Linked DNA regions of Homo sapiens: regions 1 and 3 are each linked to region 2. Evidence: promoter capture Hi-C in human tissues and cell types (Jung and others, 2019). All regions are on one chromosome and are shown on one strand. The core of a region is centred on a gene start or on the middle of the fragment in contact, and the rest is flanking DNA. Distances in the headings are between cores, read along the strand shown.

Region 1 (4,137 bases), core at 253-2,752, 720 kb before region 2:
CTCAAGTGATCTGCCAGCCTTGGCCCCCCAAAGTGCTAGGATTACAGGCATGAGCCACCATGCCCAGCTAATTTTTAAATTTTTTTTAGAGATGAGTCTTCACTATATTGCCCAGGTGGTCTTGAACTCCTGGGCTCAAGCAATTCTGCTTTAGTCTCCACCAAATTGCTGGGATTACAGGTGCAAGCCACCATGCCTAACCAAGGAAGAGTTACATTTTATTTAAAATATATATTTATTGTTATTATTTTTTTAGAGACGTGGTCTCACTCTGTGGCCCAGGCTGGAGTGCAGTGGTGCAATCACAGCTCACTGCAGCCTTGAACTCCTGGGCTCAAGCAATCTTACTACCCTAGACTCCTGAATAGCTGGGACTACAGGACCATGCCACTATGCCTGGCTAATTAAAAAAAATTTTTTTTAGAGACAAGGTGCTATGTTGCCCAGTCTGGTTTTGAATTCCTGGCCTCAAGATCCTCTTGCCTCAGTCTCTTGAGTCGCTGGAATTATAAGCACGACCCACTGTACCCGGGTACATTTTAAAATAATATAGATAAGGAGCAAAACATTATTAACAAAATAAATCAAGGTGACCATGTCTATATCCATACCGAATAATAATAGTGTTTAGTCTCAAAGTATTAAATGAAATAGCTTTTAGGGAAAGTTTTCACAAAATGGAGACAGCCTTGGTAGTAAGCTACTTGAAGGCAGGCAGGAACAATATCCTATGGATCTTTGAATCCCTCAAGAGTCTCTTGCTTCTAATAGGAGTTCAGTAAATATTTGGTTGAACAACTAATTGGATTCAGTTGCCATTAAGAATGGGCACAGCCTAAGGAAGTGGCTCTCCATTCATCAATCAGGTGCTTTCCTGCAAATTGTTTGCTACTCATTAGTGAAACTGAACACTGTCTCTATGAGAAGAGGAACACAGCAAACTACCAAGACAGGCATATTTTTTGGAATGATCATAAAGAGAGATCTGAAGGCTTAGATTAGGAGACACCTGGGCAATTCTTTTGGCTCTATCATAGATTTATTCCCTGCAGCAGTGCGGTGGAGGAGCGGGGGGCAACCCACTGCTGCTTACATATTTACAATGCATCAACTTTTATTGTTAGAAAATGGAGATAGGGTAGAAAAGAGAGAAGATGAAGAATTCTCATATTCCAGGAGGATAGAGAAGGAAAAGAAGAGAAACAGATGAACGCATCTTTGAATTATCTAGTTGTTCCCCCTGGCCTTGTTTCCTATTTTTGCTGTTCTTTCTTCATTTTAGTATTTGTTAACTCTTGCCTCTCTCCCTGAAACCAAGACAATGAGCTAGAATCATCAAAGATATTAAAACCTAGAGCTCTCTGTCTTGCTTTAGTCCAAAGCTTGGTGGGAAATGGAAGTTGAAACTAATGGCTGAAGTGAGTGTTTTAAAGTAGCTATAAATTGCAGTGACCTGTGCTTCTCGCTCCTTTTGTCCTTCATGGTCATGGATAATTGAGTGTTGGCTTGGTGTATCACCCAAGTGCTGTGGCATTTGAAATGAAGTACTCTATGAGATGTGAAAAAGTTGGAAGTGGTAGTTCTCTATGTAGGAGATCCTCTGTAATGGTTTAAAGACCTGCAAGACACATCTGGGCTATTGGCCAGCTCCTTCAGCTTCTGACCAGAACTGCTTTTATTGACACCCCCTTTCCTAAACATAGCTTTTCGCAGTCAAGTAGACAAATATAATACAATGGAATGAGAATAAATTTTGGCTTCAGCCAGACATTGGTTTAAATCCTAGCATTGGCCAGGTGCAGTGGCTCACACCTGTAATCCCAGGACTTTGGGAGGCCAAGGTAGGCAGATCACCTGAGGTCGGGAGTTCAAGACCAGCCTGACCAACATGGAGAAACCCCATCTCTACTAAAAATACAAAATTAGCTGGGTGTGGTGGCACTTGTCTGTAATCCCAGCTACTTGGGAGGCTGAGGCAGGATAATCGCTTGAACCCAGGAGGCAGAGGTTGTGGTGGGCCAAGATCACGCCATTGCACTCCAACCTGGGCAACAAGATCGAAACTCCGTCTCAAAAACAAAAACAAAAACAAACTAGTGCTACCTTTAGTCATTTGTTTGGCTTTAGCCAAGTTATTTTATTTCTGAGCTTTGGTTTCCTTGTCTGGCAAGTATATATAATAATACATACACTCGAGGGTATTTGTTAGGATTAAATAAAATGTAGTATGTAACAGGCTGATATAATTTATTTTCCCTTTCCCAATAATAGTCCCTCTAAGAGAAATCACTATATTATGTTCCACACCATCTCCTTTTTTCAAGGATTCTGGAACTGCAGTTAGAGAAAGGAATCTGTTGGAAGGGAATAAGAAGAAAAAGAACAGGAAGAAATCATGGATTGCTCATGTGATCATGAAAGGGACTTTTGTTTTGGAAACTTAGAACTCAAAGAATAAAGATGCGGAAGGTGAAGTGGAAGAAAAAATACCATCAAGATTTAGCCTTGTGGAATAAGTGAGAACAAGTAGTTAATGAGTGTGAAGATCAGTTATCTGAACACATCTGATTTGATTTCTTCTTCCTTATTCTGAGGGGATAGAGCACACTGGATTCTGCTCATTTCACTGTACCTCTTATTCAGGAATGAGAAAAGCCATTTCCTAGCTGGATTGTGTCTCCACCCTAAAAACTGGAGTCCCGATGCTCAAACCTACTGGATTGTCTGAGGGATAGAATCCCTGAAGGAATAAGAAGGTTCTTTGGCAGCAACTCTCACTGGCTTCCCCCATCTAAACTGAATCAAGGAGAAGCAGGGCAATTATATTTTATTTATTTGATCAGGAAAGCATAACACAGGAAGTTTGCTCCTTTAGCATATACTGCAGGAGTCCCCAAAGAGGAAAAAACTTCCTTCTCAAGCTTGTCTTTGCCACCTTCTTCCCTATTTTCCACTCCACTTTCTGCTCCAGAGAGTGTAAAACTAATCTTGGAGCCCACAGGGCTGGGTCGGGGACCAGCCGCTCTGAAATGACGTAATGCTTTCTGCGGTACACAAAGCGGCCTCCCCCGGGCTGGGCCTCTTTCGCCCCTCCCCCTCCGGCCTGGATCGCGCCCCCGCCAGCATCAACGCTGGTCAGTCCCCCTTTTTGAAAAGGCGGCCCAGGGAAACAGGGAACAAAGGCCCCGGAAGGAGAGCGTCGGCGCTGCCAGGAGGCCCAGAAATAGACATCACGTCATCCCCCAGCCCAGCAGCGCCAAGCGCCATTTGGTAGCATCGGAGGGACCCCACCATTACGATGCGGAATGGAGCTTGCAGGGCTCACGTTTCCTCCTAGCCCCAGCATCCAGCTGACCGGCTTAAGGAGTGGCTTCCTTTTTGCTCCCCACCCCGCACCCCTCTTTCCCCAGAGGCCGCCGCCTCCCCTGGCTGCCAGCCACACGGCCCACAGTCTCCAAGCTGCCATCTTGATGCCCCATCCCCCTTGTCACTTCCCTCCCCCGCAGCCCTTAGGAATGGGAGGGGGAGGAAGGGGCACCGCCCTGTGTGCCCCAAGGGGGAGGGCTTGGCCTACCCCACCTCTCCTCCCCCAGAAGGAGGGGTTCACATCCTCCGCACGCTTGCTGTTTCTCACCTCCAGCAGTGCTGACAGTGCACCATACAAGGTTTTAGCATCCTGGACTTCCCCACCCTCGGTGTGGCTCAGGCCCTGCCAGTCCCTGCAGCCCATAGCTCAAGTTCATGCACTGTCAACTGCCCACTACCCACTACCCACCACCACAGGCCCGATTTTAGTGGGGCTGGCATTTTGAAGGCTCTGGTCTGGGCTGCATTCTCTGCCCTGCCGCTGGGCCCCCTTGGCCTTGCAACCATTCTGACCACCTCAAGCTTAGTTTTCCCGAGTCTACTTACCAAAGCTAGGTCGGATATTGGTGATCTCAGCCATGTCGTAATCAGAGGCTGTTGCTATAACGTTTTTGCAATGGTGAGACAGCTCTGGGAACCCTCGGTCAGTACCGAGGCAGCAGCTGTAGAGCTCTAGGTCAGGGAAGGGGGAAGGTATCCAGCGGACGCCTCCTGCGACGGTCCGGCCCCTAGTTGTCAGCTGCGCTCAGCTCTTAAGATGCTCCGGGGATG
Region 2 (4,416 bases), core at 44-2,543:
TGGGAGATACACATCAACTTGAAATTTGGGTGGGGACACAGCCAAACCATATCATCTGAATGACCATATTTCTTCCTTTTTAATGAGTTGCCCCACAGTTCTTCTAGTGTGTGATCTCTCTGTTGTGGCAAGTTAATAAACCTAACTGTCAAACTACAGATGTGGTCTTTATAAGACAGGCTTATCAATTGTCTTTCCTTTCTTATATAACTCTTTGTTTCCTCTGAAGTTGATAATTGCCTAACCTTTTCTCTTACTTTGTTCTCTCTCTCTCTTTCTCTCTATACATAATAAATTCATCCCCAAAACTGTTCTAAAGAATTATACTCTTTCTTTCAATGCCTTCACCACTTCAGGTAATTCTTCTGGTCTTTCTTTTCTTTTCTTTTTTTTTGAAACCCAGACTCCTGGAGCCCTTCTTCCTCTGGCTCCAAGTTATATTGGTTGTTGTCCTTGTAAAAATATGACTACCTCTGTTCTAACAATAATCTCAAGCCTTCATGGTTAGTTGTCAATGCAACTGCTTCACTGACTCCTGCTTTCCCCCTCCACCTGAAAGGGGTCGAGTCTCTTGACATCTCTGTATCTCCAAAGTCTATCATGGTAATCAAGAAATGTTCTGGCCGGGCGCTGTGGCTCATGCCTGTAATCCTAGCACTTTGGAAGGCTGAGGTGGGCCAGTCACTTGAGGTCAGGAGTTTGAGACCAGCCTGGCCAACATAGTGAAATCCCCGTTCTCTGCTAAAAATAAAAAAATTAGCCCGGCGTGGTGGCGCGCGCCTGTAATCCCAGCTGCTCGGGAGACAGAGGTTGCAGTGAGCTGAGATCGAGCCACTGTACTCCAGCATGGGCAACAGAGCGAGACTTTGTCTCAAAAAAAAAAAAAAAAAAAAAAAAAAAAAAAAGGAGTTCTGTCCCGCCTAGGCACTATAGAGAGACCCTGTCAAGAATGGAAAGAAAGAAATCTTCGAATGAATGAACTAGTGAATGAAGGAATGGATTTCAGCGCTGGAGAATTGAGTTTAAGGGGAATGGTATTATATTCCCATCTTGTTGCAACATTTAAGGATGTCCTCAAGCCCCACGCCAGCCTGGAGCGTAGCCCAAGGTGGGAAAGCAGCGCCGAGGCCTCTCCAGACCCGGCCTGCTCCCCGTTTGCGGAGCACAGCCCACTGTACCCCCGCCTAGATTGAGGCGCTGGCCAGGAGTACACCAGGCGCCGCCATGTGAACTACAACTCCCAGAAGGCCGCGCGGAAGCGGAACGTGAACCAGGGAGGACTTCCGGACGCCAACATCCGGGCCGCGCGGGGAAGGGGAGACGTGGGGTAGAGGTAAGTGTAGGTTGAAGGCTGAATGGGGAGGGCGAGAGATGGGGAGTGGGTCTCAAATATAGAGGGGGTAGCAAGGTGGAAGGGGCCCTTCCACCTTTTGTGGGCACTCAAGTTCGGACCTCTGGGATCGGCGATTCCCCTCTGGCCAGGGCTGGTTTTAATGCTCTCCGTGGGCGGGCTTCGGTTGAGTTTGGTCCGCTTTTCCTTTCTGCTCCTCAGGGGAGCATTGCTTCCTTCTCTCGCAGTGACCATGACGAAATTAGCGCAGTGGCTTTGGGGACTAGCGATCCTGGGCTCCACCTGGGTGGCCCTGACCACGGGAGCCTTGGGCCTGGAGCTGCCCTTGTCCTGCCAGGAAGTCCTGTGGCCACTGCCCGCCTACTTGCTGGTGTCCGCCGGCTGCTATGCCCTGGGCACTGTGGGCTATCGTGTGGCCACTTTTCATGACTGCGAGGACGCCGCACGCGAGCTGCAGAGCCAGATACAGGAGGCCCGAGCCGACTTAGCCCGCAGGGGGCTGCGCTTCTGACAGCCTAACCCCATTCCTGTGCGGACAGCCCTTCCTCCCATTTCCCATTAAAGAGCCAGTTTATTTTCTAACTTCGTTTAGTTTGAGTATGGAAAACGGGTATTGGGGATTCTATGTACTAACGGTCGAGAAGTGAATGTGAAAGAACCACCTTCTTGAGGCCATCTCAGCCTTTATCTTTGCATCTTGCTGGTGTTCCCATTTTTGCTCCCAAGGAGGCAAAGACCCCTTCTCAATATTTCTCAGGATGGAAATGACATTTCACTTTCCTGGTCCTTTCAACCCTGTAGGAAGTACTTCTTTTTTTTTTTTTTTGAGACGGAGCCTTGCTCTGTCGTCCAGGCTGGAGTGCAGTGGCGTGATCTCGGCTCACTGCAAGCTCCGCCTCCCGGGTTCACGCCATTCTCCTGCCTCAGCCTCCTGAGTAGCTGGGACTACAGGCGCCTGCCACCACGCCTGGCTAATTTTTTGTATTTTTAGTAGAGTCGGGGTTTCACCGTGTTGGCCAGGATGGTCTGATCTCCTGACCTCGTAATCCGCCCGCCTCGGCCTCCCAAAGTGCTGGGATTACAGGTGTGAGTCACCGCGCCCGGCGTACTACTTCTTTTTTTTTTTTTTTTTGAGACAGGGTCTCACTCTGTTGCCCAGGCTGGAGTGCAGTGGTGCAATCATGGCTCACTGCAGCCTCACCCTCCCAGGCTCAAACAGTTCTCCCACCTCAGCCTCCAGAGTAGCTGGGACTACAGGCATATGCCACCACGCCACCAGGCTAATGTTTAATTTTTTGTAGTGACAGGGTCTCGCTGTGTTGCTCAGGCTGTTCTCAAACTCCTGGGCTCAAGTGATCCTCCTGCCTGGGCCTCCCAAAGTGCTGTGATTACAGACATAAGCCACCTTACCCGGCCAGAAGTACTTTCTTGAAGCCTAAGTTCCATTCTTCATAACATCCAAGTTTTGTTATTTTTAAGGCCTTCCTGGGTCTTTCCAACCTTTTGGTTCTTTGAGATACCTTTTCTGAGCCTACCCTACCAACCTGAGAATAACTGTGGATCTATCCTTCACCAAACCAGGCAGGTTTAGAATTATGAGTAGAGAATGAACCATCGTGGGCAGGGGTGGGGAACACTTTATTTTAAGGCATATTCATATCAGCATATAAGGCATATTCATATCACAATGGCACGATCTCAGCTCACTGCAACCTCCACCTCCTGGGTTCAAGCAATTCTCCTGCCTCAGCCTCCCAAGTATCTGGGATTACAGGCATGTGCCATCATGCCTGGCTAATTTTGTATTTTTAGTAGAGATGGGGTTTCACCATGTTAGTCAGGTTGGTCTTGAACTCCTGACCTCAGGCGATCCGCCCACCTTGGCCTCCCAAAGTGCTGGGATTACAGGCGTGAGCCACCGCGCCCGGCCTTTTAAGGCATATTCTAAAGATTGCACCCCAACCTCCAAAATTAAAAAAAAAAATCTCTAAAAAATAAAAAGTGATTTCATCTCCTAGGCCCCAATCAATCATCTAAGTAAAGCTTTTTCTTTGGTCCTTTTATCCTCAAAGTCATCTCTTGTTCCCACAACCCACTGCACCTGGGAAGCTGGACAGCAGGCCCAGCTGAAACAAGGAGGTCTCTTTGGTTCAGGTTGGCACTAAGGTGCCCAGTGGTCAGATGAGCAGCCTCAGGTTTGCAGGAGCCAGTAGTTCCTGTCTTGCTCCTGGGGGTACTTCCAGAAAAGCCAGAAGCGGATAAAGCTGGTGACGATTCCTGGAAAGTTGGACACCTGAAATCACAAGAACTGCTATGAGGAGAGGAGCCAGTTTTCCATCTTGCACCCCTGTCACCCCATCCCAGTTGTGCTTACCATGATATAGGGATCTCTGAGTCGAAACCCATAGAGGCACCAGGAGGCAGAGGTGAGAAGGGTAGCAATGGTGAGTGGGTAGGAGAGACATTGGGTTGATTTAGTTTGAATCACCTTAGCCTGTGGGAAAGAATGGAAGACTCTCTTGGCCCAAGCACATCGTAAAGCTTCACTTGCCTAAGAATTTCCTCAAGAAAAAGGTCAGACACCCTCCCTGATCTGTCACCCAACCTTTCCTGCCTCCCACTCGCCCACTTCTACTGCCTTGTCTTCTTCCAGGGTTTGGATCTCCCCTTCCTCGGGACTGTAAGCCATAGTATTTGGCTATGAGAGCCTGACTCTTATCTCTCCTACCTCCTTGGACACCCCCACTCACCAAGTCAGCCAGTGGTGAGAGGTACATGCTGATGGTGAAGACACTGCAGAAGAGGCCCAACTGCTGAAGCCGGGCCTCAGGGTTGGGTACCAGGAGCCAAAAGTAGCCATAACCCAGGAGAAGGACCCCTAGCAGGGTTGCAGTCTGTAGGAGCACAACACGCTGCAGGGGAGAGAGTACCCTTACTTCCAGATGTGCACTCTGACTTCCCTGCTAGAGTTAATTCATCCTGCCTTCTCCAGTGCTCCAATGGGGAAGCCAAGCTGTCTAGGCCTCCAGCACTGCACTGTCACAGCTTCTTTCCCACCACCAACT
Region 3 (4,477 bases), core at 903-3,402, 540 kb after region 2:
GTCATGCGAGGAGCAGGTTCCACCAGAGTAAGGAGTGAAGTTGTAGAAACACAGGGAAGTCACCATCAGAAAAGAGCAGGAGTCAAGAAACTATGGCCCACAGGTACAAACTACCTGTTTTTATAAATAAAGCTTCATGGTAAATGAATTGTAAATAAAGTTTTGCATATTGTGTGAGGCTGTTTTTGTGCTACAGTGGCAGAGCTGTCTGGCCCTTTATAGAAAAAGTTTATCAGCCACTGGAAAAGAGTTGCAGGATTTGAGGTCTTGGTGTGATGGCCTAGGTTAGAGTCATAGTGAGATTGAAGGAGTAGCTAGACAAGCCAATTGTGTGGCAGAAAGGTAGGGATGGAGATCACTGGGTTAAGGATCCTTGTAGCCAGGACACCATGAGAGTGATTGACAAGAATGCTGAAATCCCCTAAGTGTGTCAGGATGTGGAAGAGTAGAAGGCTAGAGTTATGGAAGAAAGGGTCCCACCTCTACCTGTGCAGCCTCCAGGAGAGTCTGAGGAGGGGGCGGTGAGTGTGAGTAAATGTTGTCAGAATCCCTCCTCCCAGTCTACAAGCCCCAGGGAAAGGAAGCAAGGTGTTTACTGACACCCCCAGGCTTATAAGTACTTCCTGGCTCCATCACCCTCCAGTGAACAGCCCTGGGGAGAAGACAGTACTGGTTTGCAGGTGGGTGGGTGGGGAAAGGGGTCACAGGTGCTTGGTGTTCTGGTAAATGTGCATATGAGAACATGGGGTTGCTTGTGCCCTGTCCGTCAGGGTTCAGAAGAACGTGCAGTGGAAGCAGCTATGGGGAAGTAGCTAGGGAAGGTAGGACTGGTCTGAGGTGGTGAGGAGCAGATGCTGCCAGCTCCACACATCCAGGAGAGCCTGGGTGGTTTGGGCAAAAGTCTCTGGCATCCCTTCTGAGCCTGGGTACCACACTGAAGAGTGAGGACAGTGTGCCATTTTTATCAGGAAACCCTCCAGCTCCCTGAAGACCAAATTCTGATCCTCCTGGGATGGCAGTGAAGAGCCACAGAGATGACTCTGAGGTCCCGTGGCCTTTTCCCACCTGGAGATTGTTTTCGTTACTGCGCTGTTACAGCCTTGGAGGACTGGGGTTCAGTTTCATCCAATCACATTTCTTCTTTTGTCATAGTCATCTAAACGATAGATCTTAGAGACAGGTGGGCAAGGGGTGCACTGGTGAGCCTGACTTAAGGAGAGGTCATCTCGTCCCTTCCCTAGTCCCATCTCCCTTGGTTATTGTTATTTCATGTGATTGTTCTGGTTATTTCAGGTTATTCTGTTTTTGTTTTCAAAACAATAACATATATTTGTTGTTCTGATTTTAAAGGGGTAATTGTTTTGGTAACTAGAAAATTACCTTCTCAACTCCCTTAAATTCTGTCAAAGGGAAAAGTAAGTTAGGTTGCTGGAGAGGCTATGCTGAGGCCTCAGAACCTCTGTATTCCTGGAAGTTCTGCGTGCTTTGCCTCCTGCTCCCCTCTCTGTGTTCCTGTTGGCAGGCCCCTAGGCAGGATTTAGGAGGTAGGCAAGTCACCCTAGCCAAGTCATAAGCCCATGGCTCAATTGCCTTCTCAGCCCTTCAAGGGCTGTTCCACAGGCAGCAAAGGGAGGGGCCTCCACAGGTTCACCACTGCAGCCCTAATTCATTTTCTTTTTCCACTGTCTTATTCTGCAGGGGTATTCCCTCAGCGGATACTACACCCATCCATTTCAAGGCTATGAGCACAGACAGCTCAGGTACCAGCAGCCTGGGCCAGGATCTTCCCCCAGTAGTTTCCTGCTTAAGCAAATAGAATTTCTCAAGGGGCAGCTCCCAGAAGCACCGGTGATTGGAAAGCAGACACCGTCACTGCCACCTTCCCTCCCAGGACTCCGGCCAAGGTTTCCAGTACTACTTGCCTCCAGTACCAGAGGCAGGCAAGTGGACATCAGGGGTGTCCCCAGGGGCGTGCATCTCAGAAGTCAGGGGCTCCAGAGAGGGTTCCAGCATCCTTCACCACGTGGCAGGAGTCTGCCACAGAGAGGTGTTGATTGCCTTTCCTCACATTTCCAGGAACTGAGTATCTACCAAGATCAGGAACAAAGGATCTTAAAGTTCCTGGAAGAGCTTGGGGAAGGGAAGGCCACCACAGCACATGATCTGTCTGGGAAACTTGGGACTCCGAAGAAAGAAATCAATCGAGTTTTATACTCCCTGGCAAAGAAGGGCAAGCTACAGAAAGAGGCAGGAACACCCCCTTTGTGGAAAATCGCGGTCTCCACTCAGGCTTGGAACCAGCACAGCGGAGTGGTAAGACCAGACGGTCATAGCCAAGGAGCCCCAAACTCAGACCCGAGTTTGGAACCGGAAGACAGAAACTCCACATCTGTCTCAGAAGATCTTCTTGAGCCTTTTATTGCAGTCTCAGCTCAGGCTTGGAACCAGCACAGCGGAGTGGTAAGACCAGACAGTCATAGCCAAGGATCCCCAAACTCAGACCCAGGTTTGGAACCTGAAGACAGCAACTCCACATCTGCCTTGGAAGATCCTCTTGAGTTTTTAGACATGGCCGAGATCAAGGAGAAAATCTGCGACTATCTCTTCAATGTGTCTGACTCCTCTGCCCTGAATTTGGCTAAAAATATTGGCCTTACCAAGGCCCGAGATATAAATGCTGTGCTAATTGACATGGAAAGGCAGGGGGATGTCTATAGACAAGGGACAACCCCTCCCATATGGCATTTGACAGACAAGAAGCGAGAGAGGATGCAAATCAAGAGAAATACGAACAGTGTTCCTGAAACCGCTCCAGCTGCAATCCCTGAGACCAAAAGAAACGCAGAGTTCCTCACCTGTAATATACCCACATCAAATGCCTCAAATAACATGGTAACCACAGAAAAAGTGGAGAATGGGCAGGAACCTGTCATAAAGTTAGAAAACAGGCAAGAGGCCAGACCAGAACCAGCAAGACTGAAACCACCTGTTCATTACAATGGCCCCTCAAAAGCAGGGTATGTTGACTTTGAAAATGGCCAGTGGGCCACAGATGACATCCCAGATGACTTGAATAGTATCCGCGCAGCACCAGGTGAGTTTCGAGCCATCATGGAGATGCCCTCCTTCTACAGTCATGGCTTGCCACGGTGTTCACCCTACAAGAAACTGACAGAGTGCCAGCTGAAGAACCCCATCAGCGGGCTGTTAGAATATGCCCAGTTCGCTAGTCAAACCTGTGAGTTCAACATGATAGAGCAGAGTGGACCACCCCATGAACCTCGGTAAGAGACCACCCAGGAACTGTACCTAGGGTTGGGGTCAGGTGCTTTTGCTCCTGACGCAGTCTTGGCTGATTTGTGAGCAGTGCTGTTTGGTGGCGCCTATCTTTTCCTCCTTCCCTTCTGCCTTTTAGCTAAATTCCCCTTGATTGGCCCTTTCTCCAGATATTGAGCAGGGAATATAGACCTTGGACCAGCCAGAATCTTGGCTGAACAAGGGGGAGGTTGACTCTGTTGGCTGTAATGAAGCTTCTTTAGAAATGATTGGTTTTGGCCGTACGCGGTGGCTCATGCCTGTAATCCCAGCACTTTTTGAGGCCGAGGCAGGCATATCACGAGGTCAGGAGTTTGAGACCAGCCTGGCCAACATGGTGAAACCCTGTCTCTACTAAAAATACAAAAATTAGCTGGGCGTGGTGGCGTGCACCTGTAGTCCCAGCTACTCAGGAAGCTGAGACAGGAGAATCACTTGAACCCAGGAGGCAGAGGTTGCAGTGAACTGAGATTGCGCCACTGCACTCCAGCCTGGGCCACAGAGCAAGACTCCATCTCAAAAAAAAAAAAGAAAGAAATGATTGGTCTTGGGGGCCGGGGCGGTGGCTTACGACTGTAATCCCAGCACTTTGGGAGGCCAAGGCAGGCAGATCATGAGGTGAGGAATTCGAGACCAGCCTGGCCAACATGGTGAAACCCCATCTCTACTAAAAATACAAAAATTAGCTGGGGGTGGTGGTGCTTGCCTGTAATCCCAGCTACTCGGGAGGCTGAGGCAGGAGAATCACTTGAACCCAGGAGGTGGAGGTTGTAGTGAGCCGAGATTGGCGCCACTGCACTCCAGCCTGGGCGACAGAGTGAGACTCCATCTTGGAAAAAGAAAGAAAAAAGAAAAACATGATTGATCTCCATGCATCAATATCATGCCTGCCTCCTAAGGCAGAGGTAATGAAGACTTAATTCCCTTCTGTAGGCCTTCCCCTCCTCCCTAAGCCGTTTTCTGAGAGAGGTGCAGGAGCAGGTGGGTTGGGGCAGGCTGCATACACAGTGGGGGTGGGTTGTGCTGCTAAGCAGCAGCAGGTCCACAATCCCCCCTCTGCATAGCTCCTGGGGGGAAAGGATGGAGGAGCGTGTGCACGGCTGCCTGCCTGTTGAAGGTGGTGGTTCTAATTTTATAAACCTCCTCTGCACAGATGGGTAGG

The links. Contacts are between HindIII fragments. The study calls those that stand out against the background at their distance.
Region 1: a contact is called between a fragment that was not itself captured here and the fragment with the promoter of DPM3 in region 2, in 1 of the 25 tissues and cell types used here (hippocampus).
Region 3: a contact is called between a fragment that was not itself captured here and the fragment with the promoter of DPM3 in region 2, in 1 of the 25 tissues and cell types used here (dorsolateral prefrontal cortex).

Annotation. Positions count from the first base shown.
Region 1 is chr1:155,859,571-155,863,707 of GRCh38, reverse strand. SYT11 (synaptotagmin 11) reads right to left here. Exons shown (of 4, transcript NM_152280.5): 1 at 3,913-4,137. The coding sequence starts at 3,946. Among named protein-coding and RNA genes, the nearest start is that of SYT11, 2.1 kb to the right of the region's middle. RefSeq lists an enhancer at 3,901-4,000. The HindIII fragment of the contact is 3,807 bases long and covers 1-3,405 here.
Region 2 is chr1:155,137,408-155,141,823 of GRCh38, reverse strand. DPM3 (dolichyl-phosphate mannosyltransferase subunit 3, regulatory) reads left to right here and starts at 1,293. Exons shown (of 2, transcript NM_153741.2): 1 at 1,293-1,333; 2 at 1,579-1,933. The coding sequence starts at 1,584. The coding sequence ends at 1,862. SLC50A1 (solute carrier family 50 member 1) reads right to left here. Exons shown (of 6, transcript NM_018845.4): 4 at 4,102-4,263; 5 at 3,726-3,845; 6 at 2,971-3,644. The coding sequence ends at 3,543. RefSeq lists enhancers at 994-1,053, 1,224-1,353. The HindIII fragment of the contact is 27,453 bases long and covers 1-3,643 here.
Region 3 is chr1:154,599,848-154,604,324 of GRCh38, reverse strand. It overlaps ADAR (adenosine deaminase RNA specific), which reads left to right. Exons shown (of 15, transcript NM_001111.5): 2 at 1,699-3,284. Among named protein-coding and RNA genes, the nearest start is that of ADAR, 6.1 kb to the left of the region's middle. The HindIII fragment of the contact is 4,304 bases long and covers 1-4,304 here.